2 separate regions of the Homo sapiens genome follow, and region 1 is linked to region 2. Evidence: promoter capture Hi-C in 16 types of primary human blood cells and fetal thymus (Javierre and others, 2016). All regions are on one chromosome and are shown on one strand. The core of a region is centred on a gene start or on the middle of the fragment in contact, and the rest is flanking DNA. Distances in the headings are between cores, read along the strand shown.

The links. The method cuts DNA at HindIII sites, captures the fragments that hold promoters and counts their contacts. A CHiCAGO score of 5 or more calls a contact.
Region 1: a fragment that was not itself captured here is called in contact with the fragment with the promoter of GPC6-AS1 in region 2 in 2 of 17 cell types (M0 macrophages and M2 macrophages); the score reaches 5.6 in M0 macrophages.

Annotation. Positions count from the first base shown.
Region 1 is chr13:92,193,044-92,196,164 of GRCh38, reverse strand. All of the region lies in intron 7 of GPC5 (glypican 5), which reads right to left. Among named protein-coding and RNA genes, the nearest start is that of GPC5-AS2, 160 kb to the left of the region's middle. The HindIII fragment of the contact is 3,840 bases long and covers 1-3,121 here.
Region 2 is chr13:94,186,602-94,189,794 of GRCh38, reverse strand. It overlaps GPC6-AS1 (GPC6 antisense RNA 1), which reads left to right and starts at 1,804. Exons shown (of 4, transcript NR_046535.1): 1 at 1,804-1,924; 2 at 2,422-2,571; 3 at 2,677-2,889. All of the region lies in intron 4 of GPC6 (glypican 6), which reads right to left. RefSeq lists an enhancer at 733-1,648. The HindIII fragment of the contact is 1,586 bases long and covers 1,439-3,024 here.

The DNA of each region.
Region 1 (3,121 bases), core at 301-2,800, 2.0 Mb after region 2:
TTTTCAAGGGGATACATCTTTTTTCCCAATAAATATTACACATAGAAATGTAAATTTTGAAGATAATATTAATGAAAAGCAAAATTAACTTTAATTAGTTTTCCGCTGTGCTTCCACTTTGCCCTGAGCGCCTGCCTCAACTGGCTCTCTTTCAGACCCTGAAAGTCTTGGCAGTTCCATGCCAAAGGGCCTGCGCCTCCTTGTTAAAAGTGCTACACTCTCCTTAAACCCCTATTCACTCTTCAGGTCACTCTCAGAGCCCCCTTCTGAGTCCTGGTACACAGTGAGCACATAAGTATATGCTGAGTAGATGAATGGGTAGATCAGTGAAAACCCGGGATAAAGTTAATGACAAATGAACCTAAGTAATTAAAGGCTATAATGATTTTTATTAAGTATATAAATAACTTATTCTAAATGAAGTATCATTTGAGTTTATTACAGTCACTGTTCATCAAAACTGACCTTGCCAGATATTTCGTGTTTGCCATGTGCCCTGTCATCTAGCTTCAGTTATGATTCTAAATCAGTGGTTTATTCTTGTGTCCTTAACTTCACCATGGCTACTGACCCATTTACATACGTGGTGTCAGTAGAAGCATATGAGTGGGAATGCAGTGTAGTTATGAAAAGCAGTTGATTTGGCCTCCAAAAAAATTTGGGTTTGAATCTGAGATTCAAATACTTGCCATACAGTAAGATCAATATACTGGTAATTTATTTGGAGCCAATACGCTCCTAACTCAAGGGGTTATTTTAAAGGTTAAATTAAATAATGACTATAAACCTAATAAAGATGACACACTTTGCACGGAGCTTGGCTTAATTCTTTTTTACTCCTCTTTTGTAAATTTATAATACCAGACGCTGATTAGGCCCTGTCTTGTTTAGTTTTAGGCACTGCACATATGTATCACTGAATTAAAAAGAACAACCACCACCACCGTTTTTTGGCTGTCTCTAGATTAGAGATCAAAACTATTTTATTGTATGAGAAAATGCATAGAGCTTAATATTGAATATTATAATGTTGATTTATCTTGAAGGGCCATGCAGTCTTAGTGGCTTGATTTTCAGATTCATTGTCAATTCTTATCGTTGGTTTCAATTTATGCCTTTCTAAAATATCTGTAATGTAATACAAACTCCACAAATCTACAGCAGAGATCTTTGACTGCTAATGCTTCTCTGATTTAAGGTTTAGAATTTCCAATGATAATTACCATAAAATAACCTTATTTTTTCCTGATAAAAGAAGTCTTTGAATTTGTGCTGTTAGCCATTCAATCATGACCCTAAAATCACTTTCCTTCTCACTCTACCTTAGATTACAAGGAAAGGCCTGAAAGACCATGTTGTTGGAGAAAGACCATTGGAAGTGAAATCTGATGGGGAGGCTAATACTAGGTCAGAAAGAGCCTAATATACACCCCCTGCTCATTCCTTTTACATTTCAGTTTTATTTTTCCTAGTCTACTCTCTGATGCATTTGAGAATACCTGCAGGCTGCAGCAAACTGAAACTGATTTCCAAATTCACAGAACACACTTACCTAGCTATGGCCATTATGTAATTTCTGAATGAGGATACTATTTTTCAGTGAGGAAATATGCAAAAGTATTATAAGACAGGTTTGTGGCAGTGAATGAACCTTGAACTTATAATCATGGCATCTCTGTAGCCTAGCACCTTTCAAAATTGCTCAGACAGGAGACTTGTTTTAACTGTTTTCTTTCTCATCTGCAAATAATGGATCCTAATATCTAGTCCACAGTGACGGTATTAGGATCAAGTGTGTTTTTATGAGGGAGAGCCTATGGCATGCATCACACACCTTCTGAACATTGTCATGTCCTGAGTGTTGCTCTGGAGTCGGAGGTACTCACTATTTGCATCCCAAGCACACAGGATGAACTGTGTGAATTCAGGCAAGGTGCTTAAACTCTCTGATCATCACCTTGTGTTTTGTTTTAGTTGTAAAATGAGGATAATAATCTGTACTTCATAAGGTTGTTATGAGAGTAAATTGCCATAAAGAAGTAATAGTACTTAAATGGACTCCATAAACTATGATAATTTCCATTATTCTTCCTCCCTTCTTTCCTTTCATTCGTATAACAAAGATGTATTAAGTTACTGTTGAGTTTCTGCTATTGGCCAGGCACTGAGTTCACCATGGTACTAAACACTGCAGATTCAAAAAGAATATTATTTCTCTTCCCCTTAAAATGTATATAGTTGGATAAGAAGAAATAAATAAGTAAAAATATAGCAGTACGTAATTACCTGTGCAACAAAAAGCTGTATGGAGTATAATGGGAACAAAGAATGGAGTGGTTAATCTTCTTGGCCAATAAAAGCCTCTTGAAAGAGAATGTAGTGTACATGTAATTTAATTAAGGAAGTATCAGAAAGGATGCAGGACTTCTGGGGCAGAGCCGAATGGGTGTAGCCACTTAGATCCTGCCCAAAGAGTGTCAACAATTCCTTAGCACACCAGTAGGAGTGAATATAACTGTCGGATTAATTTGTTTACAATGATAGGAAAATGGTTTAAGTTTACATTTCAGAGTTGAACTATAATCATTCTTAAGAGGTAGTTTTATCATTTTAATCAAATCTGGAGTTAAATAATTCTCTCTTGTCCATTATCCAATATAGGATTCTCTCATCTATTATCCAATATAGGAAACTCTCTGGGAATTCTCCTTTCCTGTTAGTTACATACACAAAATAAAGTGAATACTGTTACTCTTTCACAGTACTGGAGATATGGAGTTCAGAATTTGTATTGTTTCATAATATAAATGCAAATATGTATGCTATTTGATTCCATTTTGAGTTATGAACCAGTAAACTCTGCTTTTTTTATTGGAAAAAGAAAATATTTTATTTCAATGTAAAATTTTGTAGGCAGAAATTGAATTAATAATATTCTTGAAATTTCTACCTGAGCATAATATGCAATATATTTTTTATTATTTTTTTTTGAGACAGAGTCTCGCTCTGTCGCCCAGGCTGGAGTGCAGTGGCGCCATCTCGGCTCACTGCAACCTCCAGCATCCTGGTTTAAGCAATTCTCCTGCTTCAGCCTCCTGAGTAGCTGGGATTACAGGCACTC
Region 2 (3,193 bases), core at 555-3,054:
CCGCGTCGGTCTCCCAAAGTGTGGGGATTACAGGCGTAAGCCACCGCGCCTGGCTCTGCATACATTTTAATGAGAAGAGATGTTGGATCATGGAAAGATCTCCACAAAATGGAATGAATTTTTTAAGTTTTGATACTCTTTTAATTGTTTAATTTATCTGGAAAATTTACTCCTTCCTTGACATTGCAAGGAATGTGTGGATTGACATAACAATCTAGAGGTGTCCTATGTTCAGAATCTATCACCTGTTGCTAATTTACTTATACCCAACATCCACTGCTTTTTATCCAAATAAATTCCGTCCATCTTGCAATCTTTATGATGTCCAGTAAAGCAATAAGTGGTAGCAGTAAAGGGAACATCCCAGGGTGGGGAGCATGCCTCCCTCTCCTGTTCTCTTTCCAGGCTTGAAAGGCAGGAGGCACTACTCAGGAATACACAGTCCTCGTTTCTCAGCTGACAGGCTAAGGATCCCTCTGCTCTTATGTGAAACTCACATCTTTCTCTTCCTCCTCCTGTCCACCCCCAAAGCCCATTTTGTACAGAGGAGAGAAAGAATCTGTTCAGCACAATTAAACCACCTACACACAGACTTACCAAGCAGAAAACAAAGAATAAGGAAGAAAACATCCGCCACCACCTGAGAAATTGAGTAAGCAGTTTCCTGAATTTCTACCCGTTTTTCAGGGATAATGTCTCTTGAGGAAGCCACAGGTTAGAGCTTCTGGGTGATATAAGGTGAAGCCTTAGCAACACATATTAGGAATCCCTATAACAACAATGGGGAAAGGAAATGGTGGGGACGCTTATTATTCAGTGGCAAACTGGGGCTGCTTCTCCACAGCACTAGAAGAGAATAAAGCAACTATACGATTGAGGGGAGAGAGGATGGATTTGGAGTCAGACAGACTCCTTTGACGACTGACCAGATTGTGAGACTTTGAGGAAAGCTCTTCAGCAGCTTGAGTCTCAGTCTCTCTTTCTTTAGTATGAAGGAGCTCTGATAACAAATCGGTCACCAGCTATGGGATGGGGTGTGGTGCAAGTGCCTCTCCAGATACAGAGGTCCCTAAAGAAGGGGACAGAGGTGAGCAGCCAATCCTCAGAACAGCTGGAGGGTGGGGGATGGATATAGTCCCACAAAGGGATCTGGTGACACCTCACGGCATCCACCATGGCTCCCGTCTCCTTCCAAATCTGAATGATAAAACCTTATAGAATGCAGTGCTAGGTTCTTTGTAACTGAAATGATTTCACTTTCTTTTTTTCTTTATTCAACTTTAGTTCAAAGAAGTGACCACTCACATCACAGAACTCTCTGAGGCATGCTGGGCTAATTGACTCTATTGAGATATCCTTTGTTATGATAAAAATCTTCTATTCCCCTATACAGATGGTACCAGCCAAGAGGAAAGTCACTCGTGCCTGTGGTCAAGCTTCAGGCAATCCCAGTGACCTTGTGCTGCCTTAACTCACCCCTGTCTCCTGGGAAGAGGTGCAGAAGGGGAAAGTGCTTGGGCCTTCCTCTCAGTGACACCACTCCCCTCTTTGTGTCACTGCCTTGCTTTTGGGCTCAGCGTCATTAAAGCACTGCTGCACCTTAGTGCACACACTCCTTTCTAGGTCACTGAGACATGAAGTGAGTATCATTTGTAATATTCATACTTTTCTCTGTGAACTGGCAGGGGGATGGAGAAGGGCAAGAAAGTGGGAGCAGTGTCTGCTGGGAGGGTGGAGAATTAATTTGCATTAATTTCTCACCCTGTTAACTGGTGTGTCACTTCTCTACTCACACAGCCTCCAGTGTGGATTTAGCAATTACTTAGCTCAGCAGAGATAATGTACCCCATAAAATGGCAGAGACACTGGCCAGGGCTGGGCCCAGGAATTCAGTATGGATAATATTCTAATTCTGTATGACAAGGTAAGGCACAAACAAGTTAGCCATGTTTTTCTCTCAAAACTATATATATCTTACTAGGTATATCACAGTGTATTATATAGACATACCTATGTATGTTTATATATTTCCATAAAGTTTTCTTATCTTATTTTTGGTCTTTTCCTTTCCACTGGACTCTAAGCCTCATGAGGGTAAAGGTTTTGCCTATTTGTTCACTGTTGTAACTCCAGCACCTAGAACAATGTTTGCCCGATAGTGGACACTCTATAAGTATTTGTTGAATACCTAAATCCATATTAAGATCAACTCTTATGTTTGAATTAGTCTAGAAATTTGGGGGATGTTGGATTATATGTTCCATTTTTAAAACAAGATGTTTATAATCAAGTGACACGATTTTAAAAGAACATCATTTTAGTTGAGGTGCCAGTAAAATTCGTGAATGCTTTATGCTAAAAAAATATTGGGTTACGTGGCCTCTTACCTTCTGACTCATCGTTCTGCTTTCTTTTTCTTAGCTTTACCATAAATTTGAATCTGTAATTTCTGCTTTGATCAATTTGATGTATAAGGAGTGGAGCCAGTCAAATTTGGAAATAAAATTTCGAGGTTAGAATTCCAATTATGCCGGTGATTCACTGCATAAAACATACGAGCCTCAGTTTCCTGTAAGTGTTCATTTTGCTCCAAGCCTTCTTTTGAGGGAGGATACACACGTTGCCCAAGGCACCAAGAATAAAAACTTTCTTCCTGGGCTCTTTCCCTGTCATCAGTTTTCATCTGAAATAAAAGGAGATTGACTCCAGGATCTTCCAAGGCTGCTATTCCAAGAGCAGGTTCATAAAGGTGATTGTCAAGCTCCAGTGCAAATGCTAATAATCTGGAATTTTCCTTCAAACCATCTGCCTATGCAAAATACAACTGGGTCACACTGGAAAGGAGAGAGAGAGCTCTGATTCATATGAGAAATCAAGAATCGAACCTTCGTAAGTTCCATACTACAGAAACATAGCTAAGCATGCTCATTTTCTATTGGGATTCTGGCCTGCTATTTGAGTGTATGCAGAGGGCAGTATCCTAACTCTGGTATAATTCTACTAGTAGCTTGGTCTTCCAAAGCTTGCTCAAAGAAGATAGCATATTTAATCTACTAAATTATGTTTTAATCAAGATAGAACTCTATAAAAATAATTCTGCATGCATAAATATAGCCAACTCGTCATTTTTTTCTTTAAAGTGCCTGTGAGAATGTCCATGTCATTTTGACCACTTGAGGCTGGTAGGCTACTC